2 separate regions of the Homo sapiens genome follow, and region 2 is linked to region 1. The links are contacts of gene promoters, found by promoter capture Hi-C in blood cells and fetal thymus (Javierre and others, 2016). All regions are on one chromosome and are shown on one strand. Each heading gives the region's core, a stretch centred on a gene start or on the middle of the fragment in contact. The rest is flanking DNA. Distances are from core to core; before and after follow the strand shown.

What was found. The method cuts DNA at HindIII sites, captures the fragments that hold promoters and counts their contacts. A CHiCAGO score of 5 or more calls a contact.
Region 2: a fragment that was not itself captured here is called in contact with the fragment with the promoter of LAMA5 in region 1 in 2 of 17 cell types (total B cells and megakaryocytes); the score reaches 6.0 in total B cells.

The regions. Positions count from the first base shown.
Region 1 is chr20:62,364,101-62,369,182 of GRCh38, reverse strand. LAMA5 (laminin subunit alpha 5) reads left to right here and starts at 1,871. Exons shown (of 80, transcript NM_005560.6): 1 at 1,871-2,234. The coding sequence starts at 1,938. RefSeq lists enhancers at 1-268, 2,367-3,066, 3,765-4,464, 4,465-5,082 and silencers at 1,748-2,187, 4,516-4,810. The HindIII fragment of the contact is 18,996 bases long and covers 1-4,998 here.
Region 2 is chr20:62,932,594-62,937,923 of GRCh38, reverse strand. It overlaps a transcript of DIDO1 not described here. Among named protein-coding and RNA genes, the nearest start is that of GID8, 2.9 kb to the left of the region's middle. RefSeq lists silencers at 207-256, 527-576. The HindIII fragment of the contact is 239 bases long and covers 2,302-2,540 here.

The DNA of each region.
Region 1 (5,082 bases), core at 622-3,121:
AAGCAGTGAGCCCGGTGATTAACCCTGCTGGTGCTGGCAGCTCCGGCTGACACAGCGCATTCTCAGGGCCGGCCCCCGCTCCCCTCCTGGCCAGTGCCGGGGGACAGCGGAGGCCTGGCAGCTTGGCCTGATCTGGCCGCTAGGAGGCTTAAAGTGCTCTCCCCACCCCCACCTCTCCCCCTGCCCCGCCACTCGCAATCCCACCCCTCCAACCACCCGACCCTCCAGGGATCCCAAGAAGCCCTCAGGGTCTCAGGAGTCTCCACCTCCAGTCCCCCAGGCTGTCAGAGCCCCAAGCTGTCAAGGGGGAGCCCAGAGCCAGAGCACACTGCCTGGGGCCAAGCCCCCACCTGGGGACCCGCTACTGCCCAGAGGCCACTCTCTGCCTCACACGGGATCTAAAGCAGCTCAGAGCCGGACTCTGCGCCTGGACTGCAGATTCCTTGATGTCTCCGCCCCCTCTCCAGCCAGCCCCTCCCCCACTTGGAGCTTCTCCTGCCAAGGGGAGCCGCCTCCTCTCCCCCCTCCCCCAGGTGGGAGAACTAATAGTGAAGTTATGGAAGAATTGCCGGGCCGGAAAGTAGGAGGAGGGAGAGAGGGTCCCATCGCCCTCCCGACTCCGTAGAGAAAGGGCCATACACCCTCTTGGGATTTGAGATTTGCAGGAGGCCAGGGCGCCAGGAAGGTGTGCAAGGAGGTGCACCCTCCAGGGACAGCTGCTAGCTCAGAACCCCCACCAGAACCGGCTGGCCAGTGCCCCACAAACCCACCCAGCCCCCCGGGACTGTCCAGGGAACCCAGCGAGAGATGAGCCCCACAGCCCATCTGGGACCATGGCCCGCCCAGCTGGCCTGGCTCAGGGATGGGGGTTTGCTGCCAGCTCGGCAGCTGCAGCCCCACCCCGCCGCCACCCCCTCGGGGCTTCCCTGGAGGCAGATTTGGCCCCGGAGCCCAAGGGAAGTAGGAGACCCAGGGCCGCAGCCACCCAAAGGCAGACGAAGACCTGATCTCGGCCTCTAGGTCCTGTGCTGTTTGCCAGGCGTCCTCGAGCCGCCGATCGTGGCAGGAACGCGTGCGCGGCTGTGCAGCGGGTTGGAGGCCAGGCCGAGAGAGCTGGTGGAGTCCACCGGGCCCCGGAGCACAGGTGCTTCCAGGCACCCAGCAGGTGCTCAGCAGCTGTGACCAGAGCCCCCGACCTCCTTAAGAGCCAATTTGGCGGCTGTGGGGCCATGAGCACCGCCCCCGTCCTCTAAAGGGGGCTGCAGCTGCAGGCCAGTCCCTCCTGCCCCTATTTCCCTATCTGAGAGTATTTTTAAGCCCTGCTGGGGCAGGCGGGAGCCAGGCCGAGTTGAACCTGACCTGGCTGCCCCAGGAAGCAGGGGGTTCCCACCTAGGCTGCCCCGTTCCTCTGCAGATGGTCATTCGCGGGTGCAGAGGGCACCTTCCCGCAGCCAGCAGGACGGACGCTGTTGGGGGAGGAGCGGGGGCAGCCGAGTGGTGCACCCAAGTTAGGGGAACAAAGAGTGGGCCCCTGGGCTGGGAGGAGCTGGTGGGCGCTCTGGGGGCCAGGGCGTCGTGGGGAGCGCTAGGGTCCCACCCGGGACCCGGAGCTACGACCTGGGCTGGGGGCCCGGCGGCGCCGTCGTCCCACGGCCTGGCCCGAGGCCAGCAGGTGCCCCTTCCGGGAGGCGGCCGGGCCGGGGTCCGAAGGGTTAAGGCCGCCCGGCCGCCCCTCCCCCTCCTCTCTCCTTCCCCCCCCCACCCCGCCTCCCCGGACCTCTCCCCGGGGCTCGGGGCTCGGGCGCTCGGGCGGGCCGGGGCGGGGCCTGACGTCCGCGGGCGGAGCGAGCCCTGCCGGCCGCCTGGCTTCAGACCCGCCGGGCTCCCGCCGCGCGCGCTGTCCCTGGAGCTCGGGGACGCGGCCCGGAGCCGGGAAGATGGCGAAGCGGCTCTGCGCGGGGAGCGCACTGTGTGTTCGCGGCCCCCGGGGCCCCGCGCCGCTGCTGCTGGTCGGGCTGGCGCTGCTGGGCGCGGCGCGGGCGCGGGAGGAGGCGGGCGGCGGCTTCAGCCTGCACCCGCCCTACTTCAACCTGGCCGAGGGCGCCCGCATCGCCGCCTCCGCGACCTGCGGAGAGGAGGCCCCGGCGCGCGGCTCCCCGCGCCCCACCGAGGACCTTTACTGCAAGCTGGTAGGGGGCCCCGTGGCCGGCGGCGACCCCAACCAGACCATCCGGGTGAGCGCAGGGGCGGGCCGTGGGGCTTCCTCCCGGGGCACTCGGACCCGGAACACCGGCCCGACCCCAGGGGGAGCGCCGTGGCCCGGGGCGAGTCCAGGTGCGGACTCTCTGGTTCCGCATTTTGGGGGCCCAAGAAGGCACCCCGACCCGGCCGCTCCGTCTCGGCCGGGAAACTTCGCGTCCCTCCGGGAAGGCGGAATTAAAGTCCCCGGCATGGACCCGGGGGCGGCTGGGCGCCGGTCCAGTTCGACTGCGGTGACCGGGGCGGGAGGGGGGCCGGGCCCAGTCCCTGGCGGCCCCAAGTCCGGGATCCCGGGGAGGGCGGGACTTGGCCTCCGCCGCCTGCTGCCGGTGGGGAGGGGGCGCAGCTCCGCCCTACCCGGGACAGGCTGGAACCTGTTGGCCTCTGGATGGGGTGGGAGGGGCCAGCCACCTGAGGCTCCCACTAGCCCCTCTCGGAGGAGTCTAGGGACTCGAGGAGACCTCCAAAGTAGGGGAGGGCCAGCTGCGAAGTTTTGACTGGGGCTGGGAACACGTGGCTCCCAGGAGGGGCAGCATCTCTGCCCAGCAGGTGGTAGGGTCCGGGGGCTTCAGTCTCCCTGGGAGATGTGGGTTCAGGCCCTGAAGACCCCCTGGGGTGCATGTCCCCTCCCCAACAAGCCTTAAACCTGTAGGCGGGTTCTGTTGGTGGACTCCATGCATGGACACCTCACCTGAAAACCAAGGCTCTTGGGGCCCTGTAGACTTAGGTTGGGCCTGGGGTCAGCCTTGGGTGAGGAGCAGCAAAGTCAGCTCCAACGGCTCCCAACCGGCCGCTCTAGGCCCATTCCCCACCTCAGCCCCACCTTAGGGAGAGTCTAGGGGCCCTGAGGGCCTGTGTAACCTGAGCTGTCTCCTCCCTGGTACCTCTGCCTTCCCGGAAGGAGAGGCTGGGGCAGGGGCGAGTAGCTGGAGATTTGCTGGGTGGGGGCAGAGGGCCCTGGAGCAAGACGTTATGGGGATGAATGGAGGAGCCTGGGCTGGGCCCGCCCCCTCTGCCTGCCCCACCCCCTTGGCCCTGGTGGAGGGGGAAGGAGCCTCCCCAGGCTTCTGGGCTCACCGTTCTCTCCTTAAGCCCAGCACAGTCCTCTGAGATAGGAGGTCTCAAGCCCACACTTCAGATGGGGGATCTGAGCCCTGGAAAGCTGCTGACACCTGCTTGGAGCCCCCCAGCCAGAACAGGGTCCAGCGGGGGTTAGCTGTGGGAACCTGGGTGCCTCCTGGCTGCCCCCTTATCTGGTCAACTCAGAGGGGCCGGGTCTCAGGACGGAGGGCCTGTGACTGTCTCCTTACCTGCTGCCACACCTCACCACAGAGGGCCTGGCTGAGTGTCCCCAGCTGAGATTTTGCCGTTCTGGCAGGGGAGGCTCCAGGTGCCCTGTGAACCTCAGACCACCCCCCCACAGCCTGCCCATGCTGCGTGGCTGGGGGCCACAGGCCCCCTCTCAGATCTGTCTCCTCTGTGGGGGCTTATTACCCCCGTCTCGTGAGTAAAGGGCCAGCCTGTAGTCAACGCCCCTCTCCTCTGCCTCAGCTGTGTGGCTTCCCTCTGTCAGCCTCAAGCTGTCTTTAAAATGGGCACAGCGTGCTGGCCCCCCTCACCTGAGACTGTGAGCTTGGCCCGAGGAGCCTGGGAAGTGGCCACAGTTTCAGTGGCAGCTGTGGGCTGTGGTGCTCCATGCCTCAGAGCCAGCTTGGATGAGAAACCAGCCGGCCTCGCCCAGCTCATGTCTAGCAATAGAGGTGAACCCTTCGCTTCCAAAGTCTCGAGCTCTGAGCAGTGAGTGCCCGCTGAGGCTGCCAGATATGTAGAAAGATCAGCTGGTAGACGTGAGCTGGACGGGTATGACCTTGGATGCCTCCTTCATCTGAGAGCCGCGGGTCTGCTGACCGCCCTGGCCGCGGATTGGGCGTGTGAGAAGTCCTTGCCGGCCGGTCTGGAGTGGAGCTGCGGTTGGGGCAAGGCAGGCAGGCACAGGAGGTGCCCAGGCGATGAAGCCGCAGCTCCATCTGAGGGGGCTCACTAAGGCTATGGGGCCTGGGGCTGGGCAGTGTGTTCTCAAGGCTGCAGGCCAGGGGCTCTCAGGGACCCTCTGTAGGAGATGCACATTAGCTGGGCATCCCAGATGGGGGTCGGGGTGAACCCTGCTGGGCAGCTGGAGCAGGCAGAGGGCAGGGGGAGGTTGTGGCCCTCACAGCCCCAGGTGGGCATCAGGGGATCCCTGGCCGGCCCAGCCTGGGAAGGTGGGGACTGGGCAGCCAGGCCAGCATGGTGACTCATTGGAAGGGGAAGTCCTTATCGGCCCTTCTGCTGTTTCCTAGCTCTGTTCTCACGGGACCCTCCGCAGCGGAGGTGGGGGAGCCTGGTTTTCCCAACCCTGTCCTCTGTGGCTCAGTGAGTGGCCGAATGGGGACTGGAACTGCCTCCCAATAACTGGACCAACGCTGGCCCAGGCAGGGACTGAGCAGGTGCTTCCCTGACCTCCTGGAAGAGTAGAGGCTGACCCTTGACCCGCAACCTTCCACCCAGCTTCCCTCTGCTGCTCGTGTGTCTGGGAGGGTCTTGACCAGCAAGCAGCCTTCCCTGGGAGGTCCGGCTGTCCCAGCCAGAGGGCGCCGCCCACACCTACCTTCTCCAGGAGCCCCTGGCCCCACCCTGAGCAGGACCTGTGTGCGCCGTGCTGTCATTGAGCTCTTGAGTTTGGGGGCCACCATCAAAGCTTGCAGTGCGGCCTGCGGGTAGGGGTCGTGGCGCTTAACTGGGTGTCTTCAGTTGCTCTAGCCCCATCCACGAGAATGCTTAGGT
Region 2 (5,330 bases), core at 1,172-3,671, 570 kb before region 1:
CCACGCACTACGGGTTGGCGCCAGAGTCAAAAGGCGTCGGCCCTCTGGCAAGATGGCTGCTGCGGAGGCGTTGGAGCGCGGAAATCTGGAACCGGGATGGCGACGTCTACACTGAGTCGGAGGCGAAGGTCCCAGCTTTTTTCCTGTCGTTTGCGTGAGGCCGCACGGGGTGGGGCGGGGGAAAGGCGCCGGGTGTCCGCGGCCGCCCCTCAGACGGGGAGGGAGTCCCCTCCCGACCGGCGGCCTTCCAGGGCTAGTGTCCCTGAGGTCCAGGGAGAGACGGCTGACCCGAGACCGGGCTGGGCGAGAGCTGTGCTGTCTGCGCGTTGAAGCGAGTTCCCCCGCTTTACTCGAGATGTTGTTGAGCGCGTCCTCACTCGAGGCCAGGTGGGGAATCAGAAGGGCCCTGCCCTCAGGGCGCCTCCCATGGGCTACGCCGAAGGGCGGGACGCGGCCAGGGCGCGCGGGACAAAGGAGACCCCACTTGCTTGCGGGGCGGAGTCCCGGCGGCGGCGCGGGGCAGGGCCGGGGTTACTCGGTGACTGGAGACCCTCCCGGCAGGAGCGCGGGTTGAGGCCGCACTTGGGTATTTGCGCGTTTACTTGCTTATTGCCTGTCCGCTCAGGAGGAATGCGAAGTCTGTCATTGCAGGGTCCCATGTTTCCGTTGCTGGGAAGTACCTTAAAATATTTGATAGAGCCGAAGGAAGAAATAGAGTCCTTGAGGGGCAGCTCCTGATTTCATCTGTGAGGAATTCACGGGACGGCTTCTTTCTGAAGTCAGGGGTGAGGTGGTTTCGTGTGTTTGCTTACAAGCGAGCTGAACAACGTGTAAGCTATGTCGGTCGGTCTACTCAGCGACAGTAAGTCCAGTTCGGCAAATAGGTTGGAGGAGACTGATTTTGGACATTTTCCGTTAATCGAAAGAGCTAAATCTGCAGGTATAAGGTCTTGACAAAATTATGCTTCATATGCAGAGGCAGTACATGCCAGTAATTTTTTCATTTGCAACTACATAACCCTATGGGAAACAGTTATTGGTCTTTATTTAGTTATTTATTTTGAGACGAAGTCTCACTCTCGCCCAGGCTGGAGCGCAGTGGCGCCATCTCGGCTCACTGCAACCTCCGCCTCCCGGGTTCAAGCGATTCTCCTGCCTCAGCCTCCCGAGTAGCTGGGACCACAGGGGCGCACCACCACGCCCAGCTAATTTTTGTATTTTTAGTAGAGACGGGGTTTCCCCTTGTTGGTCAGGCTGGTCTCAGTGTCTTGACCTCGTGATCCGCCCGCCTCGGACTCCCAAAGTGCTGGGATTACAGGCGTGAGCCACCGCTCCCGGCCTATTTTGATTTTATTTTATTCTATTTTTTGAGAAGGAGTCTCACTTTGTTGCCCAGGCTGGAGTGCACTGTCATGATCTCGACTCACTGCAACCTCCGCCTCCTGGGTTCAAGTGATTCTCCTGCCTCAGCCTCCCGAGTAGCTGGAACTACAGGCACCCGCCACCACGCCCGGCTACTTATTTTGTATTTTTAGTACGGGTGGGGTTTCACCATGTTGGCTAGGCTGGTCTCGAACTCCTGACCTCAAATGATCACCCACCTCGGCCTCCCAAGGTGCTCGGATTACAGTCATGAGCCACCGCATCCGGCCTATTTTTATTTTTTAAAGTTTTTTAGAGACGGGGTCTTGCCTTCTTGCCCAGGCTGGTCTCGATCTCCTGGGCTCAAGCCATCCTCCCGCCTCGGCCTCTGGGAGTGCTGGGTTTACAGGCGTCAGCCACCATGCCCAGCCTGAACGTCAAGGAGAAAGTGTGCAAGGGGATGCACGAGCAGAAAGCTTGAGTGCTAGCGCCTTAAGGCGACATTCCTTAACATTCCAGTCCAAAGAGGCTGTCTCAGTGCCTGCCTGTGGGTCACAGGTTAATGCTCCTCCTCCCAACAGCCAACCGGTTACCAAGTCCTGCTCGAGCCCCCTCCTTAATCCTCTCTAGAAACTGGCTCCTTTGTGTTGTTTCCCAGCCTCTTCCACCATAACGTGGAAGCCATCATCTTTGCTTTTTGGATTGCCAGGATGTCTCCGTAACTCCTGTTGAGCTCCAGAAGTCCTGTCACTACCTCTCACATAGCAGACAGGGTGATCTCTCCAAAAGCCATCACTCATTGACTCTATCCTTCTAACATCCCTTGGGGACTCCCCAGTTGCCTGTGTAAAGTTAGCGCAGCTATAAGTCTGCACTCCTGATCTTACTCTCTGCTCCAGCCATCCCAGCTGATTGGAGGTTTTCTCATGTCAACAAGCTTTGTTATCGCTGTGCTCTCAGTCTGGGCCCTAGCTAACAGCCTTCCCTAGGCTAACTCCTGCTCACCTCCTCAGTAGAGACGTGGCTTTCTCGGGGAAGTCTTCCCTAACAAAGCTGGATTGAGTGCCTTTCCTTTATGCTTGCACAGAATCCTAACTTAGCTCTTCGTAGCTCTTAGCACACGGTCCGTGTGGTTGCTGTCTGATGGGATGTCATGATTCAGCATAAAATGGTAAGCTTCATGTGAGTTGATTATGGCTAAATCGTAATAGGAGCTCCATAAATATTTATTTGTTGAGTGACGAAGGAATAAATGAGTGAATGATTATGAGGATCTTAACTGGAAGCAATACTAGCAAAAATGGAAAGAGACCTTCAGTCAGGATGGAAATGAGCAGTCCTTGGTGACTGACAATTTGTGGGAGCTAAGAAGGAAGACCAGAGTGATGCGGGTGAGTAGCCCAGCTGATGAGGTGGTGGCACCAACTGAGAATGATCATGAAGAAGAAGGAGGTGCAACAACGAGGGAAAGGTGGTGAGTTCACCGTGGGCCTCATTCAATTGGAGGTGCCTGTGGGACACATCTAAAGCTCAAGGGGAAGAGCAGGGCTAGAGTTGAGAGTTGATGGGTACAGTATTCAGAGGAAGCCCATGGAGACAAGGAGTGGATCAAGTCCAGAATGCAGAGCTGCAAGCTGTATTCACTAAGGAAGAAGCTGCCTATGAAGGGTAGCAAGAAAGTGGCCGGGGGGTCTGACAAGAACCAGGGGCTTCAAAGGCGCTCCCTGAAGCCACAGGGTGTCCAGTTTCGAGAAGCTATGTTAGCAGTTTCCAGGCGGCAGGGAAGTCCAGGGTGAAGGTGCCAAAACTCCCCATTTGATGGTTTTTGGTGAGAGAGCAAGAAGTTGAGAGATGTGATGGGAATGGGAAACATTGGAGTGTGGTGAGCAGGGGTGAGGTGAAGACAGCGTAGTATGTTGAAGGTGTTCAGAAGCCATTAGGGCCATGCACTTATGTACTGAGAAGTGAGCAGTGAGCTAGATGCCACAAAACGCTGCAGCAGCAGGTGAGACTGAGGAGCAGGGAGGGGGGTCAAGGATAATTTCTCAGCTTCTGGCCTATGAATTTATAGGGTGGTGGGACCATCCTCTGGATAGGGAACGCCAGAGAAGAGCCTGGAAGTATGTAGTAGGGAGGTCAGAAGTCCTAAGCTCATTTTGCATGTGTTAGGTAGGTTTTGAAGTGCATTTGAGGCATTCACGTGGAGATGCCAGGGGAGCAGGTGAATGATGGTGCCCAGATCCAGGCAGAGATAAAGGCAACTACAGCCAGGTGTGCATGAAGTCTCTGTGGAGAAGGGATGGGTGGAGGGAGAGGAGGAGAGCCTGGGCCAGAGCCCTGAAGCCACCAGCATGGAGGCTCACCAAGAGTGCAGGAGAGCAGGAAAGAGGTAGGTGGGTCCCGGGACAGGAGAGGGTGCAGGGCCACACGGGTTGGCATCTGGGACAGTGACAAGGACTTCAGCCTGCTGGATTCATCAACTGCCTGAGCTTTCCTATGACAGAGGTGGGCATGTGGATGAGAGAAACCAAAGGCTTGGCCCTTACAGTCAGCTGAGGGGCAACCAGGTGTTCAGAGCTTCCAGTGTCTTGCAAGCTGAGGTGGTGGCTTTGAACTTGAGTTGTTTCATATTGAAAGAGATGAACAGAAAGAGGAGTGCTAAAGGTATATTAATCTTAAAAGAACATTAATGAGTTTTTAAAAAGGGGAGAGCAGTTTGCCCAGGCTGGAGTGCAATGGTGTGATAATGGCTCACTGCAACCTACACCTCCCAGCTAATCCTCCCATGTTAGCCTCTTGAGTAGCTGGGACTACAGGCGGAAGCCACCACACCCAGCTAATTTTGTTTATTTTTTGTAGAGGAGAGGTCTCACTATGTTGCCCAGGCTGTTCTCAAACTTCTGCGTGCAAGCAGTCTTCCTGCCTCAGCCTCCCAGAGTGCTGGGATTACAGGTGTGAACCACTGCATAGAGTGCTTCCTTTACTCAAATCATAGAATGTTTAAAAACCAGGATATCAGCCATGTTTCAAAACCACATTATTCCCATGGATGTTTTGTTTTACTCTCAAAACCCAAAAGCATAAAATCAAACCCCTACATACTGGAGACTTCAGGCTTTCAAAGAGATTGGGCAAATCAAACCACCTTACTTTTCAGGATAATTGATAAACCCATCAGTTGTTGATGCTTAGAATGGTTAGCAGAAGTAGGTAGGAAACACTCAGACCTCAATTTTCATGAACTTCACTTTTCACAGTATTTTAAACAATTAGAGATGTTGGAAAGAGGTAAGGAAGAATTTTACTATTTAGTCTGCTGCACATATTCTTTTGTTGTTGTTTTTTTGTTTGAGACAGAATTTCACTCTTGTTGCCCAGGCTGGAGTGCAATGGCACGATCTTGGCTCACTGCAACCTCCGCCTACCGGTTTAAGCGATTCTCCTGCCTCAGCCTCCTGAGTAACTGGGATTACAGACATGCGCCACCACGCCCGGCTAATTTTGTATTGTTAGTAGAGATGGGGTTTCTTCATGTTGGTCAGGCTGGTCTCGAACTCCAGACCTCAGGTGATCCACCTGCCTGGGCCTCCCAAAATGCTGGGAATACAGGCATGAGCCATGGCGCCTGGCCTGCTGCACATATTCTGACACCATGTGTCTGGTGAACCCAGACCCTGTAAAGAATCTTCACTGGTGATTGTTTGATATAGGTGACCTTCCCCCTCCCTCTTTTTGCCTGATTTTATTTCCCTTTCTAGATTATACCACTAAATCAGAAAGCACTGAATATTTTGTAAGTTTGTTTGGGTGAGAGCAAGAATAATCTTTTCTTGATTTTTATTTTTATTTTTTTAAAACCTTTAACTCCTGCTGAGGTTGAGACAAACCGTATCTAGCATACTGTTACCTGAAACAAATGTGGTAGGAGGGAAGGTGATACAGTCCTGCCATTGCAGACCAGTGGGAAA